Linked DNA regions of Homo sapiens: region 2 is linked to region 1. The links are contacts of gene promoters, found by promoter capture Hi-C in blood cells and fetal thymus (Javierre and others, 2016). All regions are on one chromosome and are shown on one strand. The core of a region is centred on a gene start or on the middle of the fragment in contact, and the rest is flanking DNA. Distances in the headings are between cores, read along the strand shown.

Region 1 (6,572 bases), core at 1-2,500:
GACCCCAGCAGCCCCTCAGCGCCCCCAGAGCCCGTCAGCGTGGGGGAAAGGATTCAGTGGAGGCTGGCAGGGTCCCTCCAGCAAAGCTCCCGCGGAAAACTGCTCCTGTGTCGGGGCTGACCTCTCACTGCCTCTCGGTGACCTCCGTCCTCTCCCCAGCCTGGCACAGGCCGAGGCAGGAGGAGCCCGGACGGCGGGTAGGACGGAGATGAAGAACATCTGGAGTTGGAGCCGCACATCTGGTCTCGGAGCTCGCCTGCGCCGCTGTGCCCCCCTCCTCCCCGCGCCCCAGTCACTTCCTGTCCGGGAGCAGTAGTCATTGTTGTTTTAACCTCCCCTCTCCCCGGGACCGCGCTAGGGCTCCGAGGAGCTGGGGCGGGCTAGGAGGAGGGGGTAGGTGATGGGGGACGAGGGCCAGGCACCCACATCCCCAATAAAGCCGCGTCCTTGGCCAAGCGGAGCGGTGGTTCCTCAGCGCGTGCGGAGAACGAGGCGGCAGGAGGCGTCCGAGGCGCGAGCTGGAAGTCTCAACCCCCGTCCCACTCCTGCCCAGGCCCCGGGCGCTCCCGCGTCCCCTCCCCGCGCCCGTCGCGGGTCCTACCGAAACTCGGCGGCCGCACAGCGTCGAGACGCCCCCCGTGGGGGCCCGGGGAGCCGGGGCGAAAGGGAGGGTCCCGGAGGTCGGGGAAGAGGGAGAAAGGGAGAAGAAATTCGAGAAACTAGCCACGCGGGGAGAACCAGACAAACCGGGTCCCGGCAGGGCGGGCGCAGCCGCCAGGGCGGAGCCGGGTCTGGGGCCCCGGGAGTGGGGGGCAGGCCCGCGAGCTGGAGGGTACGCTCCGCCTTGGCGGCTCGGGACTAGGGTGGAGGGGCCGGGAGCCCCGGGGCCCGTGCGCTCCGGCTCTGCCGGGCTCCTCGTGACGCGGCACCCACGGCCCCCGGCACCGACGGGAGCCCTGCCCGCGAGGCGAGGGCTCCGCCCTCGGCCCCGCCCCAGGCCGGAGCCCCAAATTCCGGCGGGTGCCCGGGAGCGGGGCGAGGCCCGGAGCGCAGGGGGAGGAAGGCAGCTCCGCACGGGCGGGCGAGGAGCGGGGCGCCCAGGCGCGCGCCAGCCGGGGTGGCCGGGTCGCGAGGCCGCGGGGTAGGCGGCCCGAGCGCGGCTGGACGGCCCCGCCCCTCCCGGCCAGCACCGCCCCCTGCGCGCCCCGCCCCCTCCTTCCCGCAGCCCCCACCCCCGCCCCGGCTCCTCAACACAAACTTTCCGTCCCGCTCGCTCCCTCCTCCGCGCTCGGCGCCTCCCGCTCCAGCCCGGCTCATTCCGCACATTCCGGCCAGCCCCCTCCCCACGACCCCCCTTCCCCGGCCCCCCTTGCGGCTCCCTCGGGCCCGGCGGAGCGGCCCGGCCGGAGCGCCCCCGCGAGCTCGGACCAGGTAAGCCGGGCGGACGCCGGGAGGAGGCCCCGCTCGGGAGAGGTGGTTTGGTTGGTCGGCTGGGCTGGCTGGGGGGGCGACACTCGAGGGGGACTGGGTCCCCGAGCTATTGTCCAGCCGGAGCTGGAGCCCCGGATCGGGGTGCCGGGAAGTTTAGAGGGAAGGGGGAAAATCTCTCCGGGAAGCCCCGCCCCCCGCCCTCCCCACCCCCCCGCGACGGGGACGAGTTGGTCCGGGAAGGTGGGGAAGCCGGGGAGACCGTGTCCCCTGTGCCGTCGCCTGTCCCGCCGTCCGTGCTTGGGGGGTCGGGGCGGGGATCCGGGGGCCGCACAGTGTGGAGGGCCTGCCTGCCACCCTGGAGCTCATATCCGGGGCGCCCAGTCCCGGGCCCCGCCGCCCTTTGGACTCCCGGCCCGCGCGCTCCCGGAGCCCGCCCGGCCTCAGCTCCACGCAGGCCTCGGGCCCGGCCTCCCAGCGCCCAGGCCGGTTTCTGCGCGCGGTGCCGCGGCTGCGCTGGGTTGTGGAGGGTGTCTGGGACCAAAGCCGCGCGCCCCGGCCGTGTGTCCCCTGAGAGGCAGGGAGGGGCTCACGTTCCCTTCAGTTCTGCCGCCTGCGTCGGGGTGCTGATTCAGAGTTCCAGCCCTGAGCGCTGTGAGCTTGGCTCGGAGGGGTCTGGATTTGGGGCCTTTTCTTCCCCACACTTGCTCAGGGCCCTTGTTTAGACTTGACAAGGTTTGAGGGTGGCTGGTCTCCCGCTTCCTACCCCGGTCCCCACCATTGTCTGTCATGCCCTTTATTCCTGCTAGGGGAGGGAGGGCTGGGAGCGCTGGTCTGGATCTGTTTTCCAGCCCAGCTGGGCCCTGGGGCAGTGTCATTGAGACCCCGCTCTGTCAACTTTCCTGGTGAGGGGCCCTGATCCAGGGCTGAGAGATTCTTTCAGTGCGAGGGGGAAGGAGGCCTTGGGGCGGACTTCTCAGGGGCTGTCTTCTTCTGTGTCTTCCCTCTTTCCAGGTAGGGGCAGAACCAGGTCAGGCCTGGACTTGTTGTCCGGAAGAACAGGGCATAGGGGTAGGGGCTGGACACAGCTCAGAGGGGCTGGTGCCCATAGCGGCTCTGCGTATCCAGTCTCTTGTGGCCTGGTTCTCTGTACACATGTTCCACCCCAGTGCTGGGGCCACCTGGGGCAAGGAGGGGAGGCTTTCCTCAAAAGTTGGAGATTTGGGGGAATTATGTCCTCTCCCTTCTAGACTCCTGTAGCCCCCCTCCCACCAAGACCCCTCTCGTAGGGGCACTCCCTAAAGGATGTGGTTCTGTGGTCTTCTGGGTCCCTGCTCACCCAGTGGGCAGAGTGCACAGATCTTCCAGGACAAGGCTGTCCAGTAAGGGTAACTTCAGGGGCCCTGGATGCCCCCTCCTCAGGGAGAGGGTAGGAGCCAGTATGAGTCCCAAGCTCTTGGGCCTTCCCCTACCCCCCCAGGGAGGGAACGTCATTAATGCTAATGAGCGCATCTGGGCTGGGGAATGGCTTGTTAGAGTGGTCAGTGGTTGCCAGGACAGAGCAGCACATTAAGTGTACAGAAGCATCACATGGGTCCTGAGCCCTGCTCCCATCCTCACCCAAAGGTTTGTAGACCCTGGCACTTTCTGCCAACTGAAGGAATGTTAAAACCGGGAGGATTTGATATTCTCAACAATATCAAAGGAGAAGATATCTCAACAGAGGTGGTCAAGAAATAGGGATCTGGTCCCCTCCGGACCTTTAACCAGTTGCGCCATCTTGGCAGGCCCCTTTGGGCCTCAGTTTCCCTGCTTGGAATGAATGACTTCTCAAGTCCCTTTTCTCTGAGCTCCTCCCAGAGTCTGTCTCCCAGTTTGCCTTCCTTCTCCCATGATGGAACCTGAACTTGGTGGGGTCTGGAGAGGCGGGTGGGTGATCCAGTGGCCCAAAGAAGAAGGCAAGGACAAACCAAGGGGTGACTGAGGAGTAGCTCAGCCAGATGAACAGGGCTGAAAAGGTGGCGGGGGGCAGGTGTCAAGGGACAGGGGGGCTTGGTGGATTGGGGGATCTTGCCTCTGAAGTGGTCATGGGTTCTGTTAGGGCTGAATGGCACAAAGGGTGCTCAGAGGCCGCTTGGGTGGCTCTACCCTCTGCCCCACTCCCAGACACCTGTGGGGGTCCCAGGGCTCAGTGTGGAAATCGCTGGTCCTGCCCTCCTCCTCCTCCCCGCCCAGGATGGGGAGAGGAGCCCAGGGGTCTAAACGCTGCAGCTTTCTGTGAAGGGGCTAGGAGGTCGCAGCCTCTTCTTCCCACATGGGGGCTGCAGAAGCTGTGGGGTCCCAGGGGTGGCCCTGAGGATCTGCCTCTGGGTAGAGCTGGGGAGGTCAGCAGGTCACACTCGGCACTGTCCCTGGGGCCTTGCCCTGCCTTCCCTCCCCTCCCCTCCTGGTGTTGTGCCAGCCCTGGGCTGTCTGCAGAAGGGGCCACTTCCCTCCAGGGAGAACCCTGCCAGGGAAAGGGCTCTGCCTGTCTTCCCCGACCCACAGGAGGTTGAGGTTAGGGCCAGAGAGGTTCATCCCCCTGCACATCCCTAAAGCCTCAGCCCTTGGGGTTTCCTAGAGTGCCGATTGTTTCCTGTGCTCCCTGCCAGGCCTGAAAGGGCAGGAAGTGTTAGAGGGAAATGAGAATGCAACTGTGTGTGACGCTGGATGTGTGTGAGAGAAGCCATGAGTGGGACATTCTATGTGGGTGAGACTTGTCTTCTGTGGGGCTGGATGTGTGTGGAAGAGAACCTTGGTCAGAGCAACTTGTGCAGGGCTGGGTGTATGCAGGAGAGAAACTGTGGCTTTGTGACATTCGTGTGTGTGACAGATATACACGTCCATAAGAGAAACTGGGTGACTCTTCATGTGTCCAGGTGTGCCGCCACCTCTGTACCTGAGAACCTGCATGGGGGATGTTCTGTGTGTGCCAGGGCATCACCCAGGATGTGCCGATGAAGGAAGCTGGCTGCCTAGCCATCTGTGTGTACCTGGAGATGACACTGGGTGTGGCTCTGATGCTCAAGTGACCTGCGTGTGAAGGACACCGCACTCGCACGATGCTGTGTGTATGTGAGCGCGCGGGCGCGTGTGCGTGAGAAGCCGGATGAGTGGCGATCTGTGTGATGTGTTACGCTGTGGTGTGACCACTTGTGACCTGCATGTTGTGACGCAGCATGTGAGATGGCCTCAGGTTTGTCTGTGTGTGACTTACATGTGACACTACATGCGAGTAAAACAACATGACCAGCTCTGTGTCAGTATGATGTGTGTACCAGCAAGGTGGGCCCCATCCGACATGTGCCAAGCATGAATATGGTATGCGGTGTGTGGGTGACACTGAGCACCAGAAAGCGACACCGTATGTGAGAGAAACCGTGGGGCGTGACTGATGCTGGCGCTGTGGGTGGGTGGTCACTATCTGAGCGTGTTTGGGACTCTCGGGTAGTGTGGGTGACACCCCCAGGGCTGTGCCAGGCAGGGCGTGTAGGAGGCTCTGTGGGATGCTTTTGGGGGCCTGTGGTCCCTGACGTGTGGCATCTATGTGGAAGACAATGAGAAAGACACTGATAAAAACAAAGAAGGAATGTAATTAATGCCTCTCAATTGTACACTTAGAAATGGCTAAAATGGTAAACTTGATGTTATGTATATTTTATCACAATAAAGACATTTTTAAAAACCCAGCAGGAGAGAGATGCGGGTAACAGTGAATGAGCAGGACAGTGGCTGTGACGCAACTGTGTATGCGAGCGAGAGGAAGGGCGCAGAGGAAACCTATTTGTTCTTAGATGACACCGTGACTCTCATGAGGGCACTGACTGAGTGGCTGGTGGGAGCCCAGTGGGCGACCCAGAGTACCAGGAGTCTGGCATGGTAACTGAGAACTGAGAAACCCAGTGACCCCCTATAGTCTGTCTCTCACTGGATACCTGAGATTCCCACCCTGGGACCAGGACAAGATGAGGAGATAAGTCAGTCCCAGGGAGGGGGTGAAGGGAGGTCTGGAAACTGGGCCCTTCTCTCTACAGGGGACTTGAGGGCTGAGTCTCCACCCTCCTACCCGCTATACTGCTTCAGGGAGCAGGAGCGTGACAACAGATGAGATGAGCTTTGCAGAAGGAGGCCTGGGGGGACTATCCCAACCCCCTCTGCTCCCTGAGAAAGCCCCTTTCCCAAGTAGTGTGGGGAGGAGGGGCAGAGAATCTCCAGTCCCAAATTGGAAGCACATTAATAAGCAGGGCGGGGGGTGGGGAGAGAGTGGAGGGGCCCCCACCTCCCTCCTAGTGGGCTCTGCAAATTGCTTCCTCCTGTAAAAATTGAGACCCTGTTCCAGGAAGGAGGGAAGCCCTCCCCAGCCTGGCAGGGTGTGGCTGCTTGGCAGGGTCCCTCCGGGGTCCTTGGGCTGGAGGTGGGGGAGACAGATACATCCCTACTTGCTCTGCTGCCCCAGAGCATGGCTACTTCTAGGGTGGGAGCTTCTGGCAGCTGGAGAACAGCTGGCCCGCTGTGGGGCGGGTAGGGGAGGAGGGAGGAAAAGGCAGAGAGGGTGGGAGCCTCCCTTAGCCCTCCTCAGCTGCCCTCCCCATCCTCGACCCCCCCGGCTGGTCAGCCCAGCTCAGGTTTGAGGGCAGAGATTTGGGAGGAAACTGCTGATTTCACTGATCTTGCCACATTTTGAGTGATGTTCTCACTCCAAGTGAGAATGCTTTGGGGGCTGGGGTCCCTGCAGGGGTGGACTGCTGGCTGCTAGACCCAGGAAGGTCACAGCTCAGCTCGTCCTCCCAGCAGGGCTGGTGCAGGGGAAGGGGTAAGACAGGAGGTGCCCACTCACCCAGACTGGCTTTTTCTGTGCCTCCTACCAAGGCAGTGGCTCTGGGGCCCCTAAAGGGAGCTACAGGGCTGGGTGGTCTGGAGGCTGCAGGGTCTGTGGGGGTGGGGGACCAGGGCCTCTGCAGCGGCCCCAGCTCCAGCCTGATCCCTGGAGCTGTCCAGCCAGTTCTTCCAGCAGGTCTTGCCCCAGGGTGGGGGTGGGCAGCAAGGTGCCCCTTATCTTCCCCAGGGCCCCAAAGCCTGCTCACCCAGCCTCCTAGCCCCCATCC
Region 2 (6,572 bases), core at 1,092-3,591, 220 kb after region 1:
TTCTGAGTGCTGGGATTATAGACATGAGCCACTATGCCTGGCTTAAAAGAGCATCTTGTACATGGCAGATGCTTAGTAGTTTGAATGTTTGAATATACTTGAATTAAGATGATAAACTGCTTCTAGAAAGCACTAAAAAACTGTGACAGGGGATATCTGAAAAGCAGGGAGTCATAACTAACACTGTGTTCATTCCAGAAATATTTATCAACTGCTTATTACATATTAGGAATTCTGTCTTTGAGAGGTATTGGTTCCTATGACTGGGATTGTCTGACTTGTAGCATTTTATTTTAGAGTTCCCTTTTCATCAAGCACCACAGGAGATTCTAATGCAGAGCAAATTGTGGTGGTGGGCAAGGGTAAGCAGGCGGGAGGGCAAGGTGATGGTGGGACTCTTAGAAATGGACACTCCTTTCCAGAGGCTGAGGGACAGGGCAGGATCCTGAGGTCCCCAGAAATACTTACCTTTGACAGCTTGCTGGACGTAGGCTGTTGTCCCATCACTAAGGGTCACCGTGTGCAGCCCCAAGCTCTCCATGGCAAACTGCTGCTCGTGCACTCAGACATGAAGTTGGCTTCTGGCCAGCACCAAGAGCCACAGCTGAGGTCAGAGATTTCCTTCTGGGTCACAAATCTAAGAAAATAAACAGTATCACATTATGAGTTAACCAGCTTTCTCCTATCGCAAAGACACTCAGGGAAGGAGTTAATGAGGCCAGCCAGCCAAGAAGAAAAAAGATGAATTCTTCAAAGTAGTGAACTATATTGGTTTTTATGAAAAGGGCTCAAAATACACATTATCTAAGAATTCTAAAAGTTAAGCATAGAAGAGAAGCATGCCAATCAAACTGGTCATAAAGTAAGAAATCACTGATCAAAACCCATTTCTAAACTTTCTCCCCTTAGGAAGGAGCCCTGCTGAAGGCAGGCAGTTAACCCCACTGCTGATGGTTCTCTCTGCCTACTCCAACATCTCTCCTGTGCTCGGACCCATTTATCTACTGAGCTTGTTAACCATCCTCAGGGAACATCCCACATGTACCACACGTGGAATAAGTCCTCAACAGAACTCACAATGTGTCCCAACCTTCCAGAACTATTGTACTTCCAGTATCCCCTATCCCAGGGGTGGTATCGCCTTCCACCCAGAACTTCAGGGCGGGGGGGGGGGGGATCATGCTTGAGTCCTCCTTTTCCCTTAAAAGTCCAGGTACTTATTTCAGGCATGTCTCACCTTTCACCTCTGGACAACTATAAGGAGCCTTATAACTTATGTCCTCAGATAAACTTTTGTCTGTTTCCAATTCATTTTCTTTTCTTTCCTTTTTTAGAGACAAAGTATCACTCTGTCGCCCAGCTGGAGTGCAGTGGCTCCATCACAGTTCACTGTAACCTCGAACTCCTGGGCTCAAGTGATCTTCCTGCCTCAGCCTCTTCCAACTCATGTTCTAACATTCATGTTTATGCTGTCAGGGTGAATTTAAAAAAAAAGCTCTCTTCCCACTATCTTGGAGCCTGTAGAGGCCTGCTGAGAACAGGACTTCCAAAAGGCAAATATGGGCGGGGTGTAGTGGCTCATGCCTGTAATCCCAGTGCTTTGGGAGGCTGAGGCAGGAGGATTATTTGAGGCTAGGAGTTCAAGACCAATGTGGGCAACACAGCAAGACATTGTCTCTACAAAAAAAAAAAAATTAGCCAGGTGTAGTGGCACATGCCTGCAATCCTAGCTACACAAGAGGCTGAGGTGGGAGCACTGCCTGACCCCAGGAATTTGAAACTGCAGTAAGCTTTGATCATACCACTGAATTCCAGCCTGGGTGATAAAGAGACTCTGTCTCAAAAATAATAATAAGATAAATACAATACATTTGGAAGGCTGTAGTCCAAGGCCATTTTTTGCTAGCTGTAAGTGGGGCCTCCAGAACCAAAGCGAGGACACAGCTCTTATTAAAATTGAGGTATTGGCCAAGTGCGGTGGCTCACGACTGTAATCCCAGCACTTTGGGAGGCCGAGGACAGTGGATCACGAGGTCAGGAGATTGAGACCATCCTGGCTAACATGGTGAAAACCCATCTCTACTAAAAATACAAAAAATTAGCCGGGCGTGGTGGTGGGCACCTGTAGTCCCAGCTACTTGGGAGGCTGAGGCAGGAGAATGGCATGAACCTGGGAGGTGGAGCTTGCAATGAGCCAAGATCGCGCCACTGCACTCCAGCCTGGGCGACAGAGCGAGACTCCGTCCCAAAAAAAAAAAAAAAAAAAAAAAAAAATTGAAGGTATTTATGCTCGAAATGAAACTAATTCTATTTAGGCAAGAGATGTACTTACATGTATAAAGCAAAGAACAACACACTGACTGCTGGCAGCAAACTGAAGAAAACCAGCATAATCTGGGGAAAGGTAAACTCAGGCCCATGGAAACAGTGGCATGGTTTGTGCTAAATTCCCAAGCAATCTTGCTAAAGCTATTGAACACAGAATCTGTGTGACGCTGTGCCCCTCAAGGACTTAAGCTAATGAAAAGTAAATAAATAAAAGTAGATTTATAAGAAAAAAAGAGTACAAATCTAAACATACCACTTCCTTGACTAAAACCCTTCCATAGTTTCCTACAGCTCTTAGAGTCCACCTTGCATACAAGGCTGGGTTGTTATAAACTCCCACAGCCTAGGTACCACCTTTTCCTAGCACTCACACCTCTGGGCTCAACCTACTTCAGTACTCATCACTATCTGTTTAATGTCCGTTGCCTACACAAGGCTTTGGGCTCTAGCCTGGTTTCTGCGTCACAGTGGTTTCTCCAGCAACTCACACTGTGGGCTCTCCACACATCCTGTGAGTGACTCCCTGGGTCCCTCATGTGCAAGGTGGGAAGCACTGAAGCTTCCTGCTGGCAGGATATCTTCTGTACCCACTGTGGTGTGCAGCCTGCTCTAGCAGTGGACCCCAACACTTGTGAAGCCTGCAGGAAGCCCACGGCCTCTAAACTCAGTGCAGTCGTGAAGACTCTCTTTGACATCCATTCTCAAAATTCTCCTGGACTTGGAATCTGGACTGCCTACTGGATTCTCACGACTTACCAACCGATATCTTTGACTGGTGCTACCCAAACTGTTTTCATGTCAGGGGACCTAGAGAGACAGATATTTGTACATTGCATTGCAGATGCTGCTGCTTAAAGTCAGAAGTTCACATTGCAGATGTCACTGCTTCAAGCCAGAAGCGACCAACTGGGGCTTTGACAGCCCTGAGGGGCGAGCGGATCAATATCTTGGCAAAATTATAGACCATCCAGGAGTTCGAGACCAGCCTGACTAACATGGAGAAGCCCCGTCTCTACTAAAAATACAAAATTAGCTGGGCATGGTGGCACATGCCTGTAATCCCAGCTACTTGGGAGGCTGAGGCAGGAGAATTGCTTGAACCTGGGAGGCAGAGGTTGCGGTGAGCCGAGATCGTGTCATTGCACTCCAGCCTGGGCAACAACAGCGAAACTCCGTCTCAAAAAAAAAGAAAAAAACAAAACAAAAACTGGCTGGGCGTGGTGGCTCACACCTGTAATCCCAGCACTTTGAGAAGTTGAGGCGGGCAGATCACAAGGTCAGGAGATCCAGACCATCCTGACTAACAGGGTGAAACCCTGTCTCTACTAAAAATACAAAAAATTAGCCGGGCGTGGAGGGCGCCTGTAGTTCCAGCTACTCGGGAGGCTAAGGCAGAAGAATGGCATAAACCTGGGAGGCGGAGCTTGCAGTGAGCCAAGACTGCACCACTGCACTCCAGCCTGGGCGACAGAGTGAGACTCCGTCTCAAAAACAAACAAACGAAAAACCCAAAAAAACCTATAGACCAACTGCGACACGCTGATTGGAATGCTCTACCCCAGGCATGGCATCTCAACTAGAATTATTCATTCATTCTGTCCATAAACATTTACTAAATGGGCTAAGGTGCAAGGGCAGCAATACTATTATATAGTGAACACTACTATAGAGTTAACCACGTGCTAGGAATGTCACATACATTAACTCATTTAGTTCTAACAATCCTACAATCAAATGCTATGATTATCCTCATTTAAAAGTGAGGGAACTGGAGGCCCAAGACCAAGTTAAGTAACTTGCTCAAGGTTACACAGCTAACTAGTAAAGGAGGATTTCACCCTAGGCCATTTAATCCAGAGTGTGACCTTAATTACTATGCTGCGAAGCACAGAGGTGAAGCTGGGGGTTTATGAAACTTGAAGCTACTCCAAAATACTTTTTTGGTGTGTGAGCCTTTGCATTTTCCAGGAGAGAGGGAAATCCAAGGCTGTCATCAGGGTCTGATAGGGATTAATGGTGAAGAACCACTGGTCAAGGTGGGGATTCTGACATCTGACATCTCTGGTCTATTAGCATCCTTGCCCAGAGCCCTGATAACCTCCACGTGGTCCCTGTCTCACAAGAGCTCTGCTCCTGGCCTCTCTTGGTCTGCTCTGACCTTCAAGCTTCACTCTCTTCATCAGGTAGATTCTTTGGGTAACCCGCTTTAGTGTAACTGCACTGTGTCAGAAGACACATAAGAGAAACCAGGTCTAAAAACAAAGCAGGCTGGGCACGGTGGCTCATGCCTGTAATCCCAGCACTTTGGGAGGCCGAAGTGGGCGGATCACTTGAGATCAGGAGTTCGAGACCAGCCTGACCAACATGGTGAAACCCCGCCTCTGCTAAAAAAAAAAAAAAATACAAAAATTAGCCAGGTGTGGTAGCACATGCCTAGCTACTTGGGAGGCTGAGGCAGGAGAATTGCTTGGACCCAGGAGGCGGAGGTTGCAGTGAGCCAAAATTGCATCACTGCACTCTAGCCTGGGCAACAACAGCAAAACTCTTGTCTCAAAAAAAAAAAAAAAAAAAAACCCATAAATAAATAAATAAAAATAAAAACAAAGCAGACATAGGTTGAAAAGGGATTGCAAAATATCCTCAGACTCCCTGGGCCCTGTGGCTCCTGCAGCTCACCTCTGTCAAATACTCACATGGTTTAACTGAGCACAACTGCACTCCACTGGGACTTTCTAAGGAAAATCAGTGGTGTGGTTAAGAGCACAGGCTCTGAAGTCAGGTCTGGGTTTTAATCCAGGCTGAACTTCTGTGTAGCCTTGGGCAGGCTCTCTGAGCCTCAGATGTCACTTCTGAGAAAATGGGGATAATAGTGGCACTTGCTTCATAGCCTGCTGTAAGGGATTAAATGAGGGCACATATGCCTGTACTCTAGAAATACCAGCTATCAGGAGGAGGGGAAGGAAGAGGAACCTAAAGGGAAATGCTTTTGAAGCAATACGAAGTCCTAAAACAGCTAGGACTAGTGGCAACCACCCTGGACTAGAAGTCTACAGAATTGGCTTCTAATCTCGATTCTATCTCTATGTCTGCCTCTTTATCTGTAAAATGAAATGCTGGCCCAAATTACCCTAAGATCCTTTCTACTGCTCATGCTAATATTTATTTTTATCACATATAAATGTGATTAATATATACCAGCCACTTTTTAAAGCACCTTACCTATATTAACTCTTAATCTTAAAAATAACTGATGAGGAAGTAGGTATATTATACCCATTTTACAGATGAGGCAACTGAGGCTTAGAGGTATAGTACCTTGTCCAAGGTTCCAACACTACTATGTGTTGAAGCCAGAATTCAAAGCCAGGCTGGCTGGCCCCAGAGCCCATACTTCTCAATATCTGGCGCACTTCTTCCTTCTGCTAATTCACTGTGACTGGCACACCGTCAGCACTCAAAACACTTGAATACGGGTTAACTTCCATCTCACCCACTGTAACTTAAACCCAGACCTTCTTGGCCTACCCGCAATGGAAAAAGGGAATAGCTGGTAGCCACACTTCCCAAAATAACCCTTCTTAGACTCAAAGAAAACAAATTTCCACTCCTTTTCATGTTCTCGCGTACAGGCTAAATAACCTCAACTCATTCACGTTTCCTTCCTAAGTCTCGTAATACAAACCTTTAAAAGAGGCTACTGTTGTTCCCTGACCTTTCCCAATCTCTGAAGCTGCCTTCCAAAAGAGCCTGACTGCAGAGGGTGAGGAGGAAGCTTTGTGGCTGCTAGGCATCTACCAGTGCCCTGATTGCCATTTTTCTCCCTGTACTTTCTTTCAATGATGGTTTACTCTGAATCCTCCCATGCTGGCACTGAACTAACAACAGTGACATGGGCAGAGCCAAAGAAAGGCTTGTTACTGCTTCAGGATGGCTATGTGTGAGTTCTGCCTGCACTTGCCGGTTCAGACTCATTACTCCTGCAGCCCTCCGAGACAGGGCAGAGGGGCAGTGAGGGTGGCTGCTCTGTTTTCTCCTTGTAGGATATAAGGTTTACTAGCTCTGCAATGACCTGAGCTGTGTATAGGGGAGAGACAGACTGGGAGAGCGGAAGGTGAGAAAAGAGTGAAGACAGAAGGGAGCACTCTTGACTCTCCCAGAACTAGGAGCAAATCCAGTTCTGTTTGCTGCAATTTTTTTTCTTTTTTTTTTTGAGATGGAGTCTTGCTCTCACGCCCACGCTGGAG

Evidence for each region. The method cuts DNA at HindIII sites, captures the fragments that hold promoters and counts their contacts. A CHiCAGO score of 5 or more calls a contact.
Region 2: a contact is called between a fragment that was not itself captured here and the fragment with the promoter of TEAD3 in region 1, in 1 of 17 cell types (non-activated CD4 T cells). The highest score is 6.0, in non-activated CD4 T cells.

The regions. Positions count from the first base shown.
Region 1 is chr6:35,491,757-35,498,328 of GRCh38, reverse strand. TEAD3 (TEA domain transcription factor 3) reads left to right here and starts at 1,250. Exons shown (of 13, transcript NM_003214.4): 1 at 1,250-1,431. It overlaps TULP1 (TUB like protein 1), which reads left to right. Exons shown (of 15, transcript NM_003322.6): 15 at 1-455. The coding sequence ends at 2. LOC124901309 (a long non-coding RNA gene) reads right to left here and starts at 196. Exons shown (of 2, transcript XR_007059561.1): 1 at 122-196. RefSeq lists enhancers at 1-343, 344-1,274, 2,221-3,006, 5,432-6,005, 6,006-6,572 and 1 more and silencers at 743-1,072, 1,083-1,212, 1,393-1,442. The HindIII fragment of the contact is 26,537 bases long and covers 1-6,572 here.
Region 2 is chr6:35,275,121-35,281,692 of GRCh38, reverse strand. ZNF76 (zinc finger protein 76) reads right to left here. Exons shown (of 14, transcript NM_003427.5): 2 at 469-637. The coding sequence starts at 541. Among named protein-coding and RNA genes, the nearest start is that of ZNF76, 19 kb to the right of the region's middle. The HindIII fragment of the contact is 1,097 bases long and covers 1,793-2,889 here.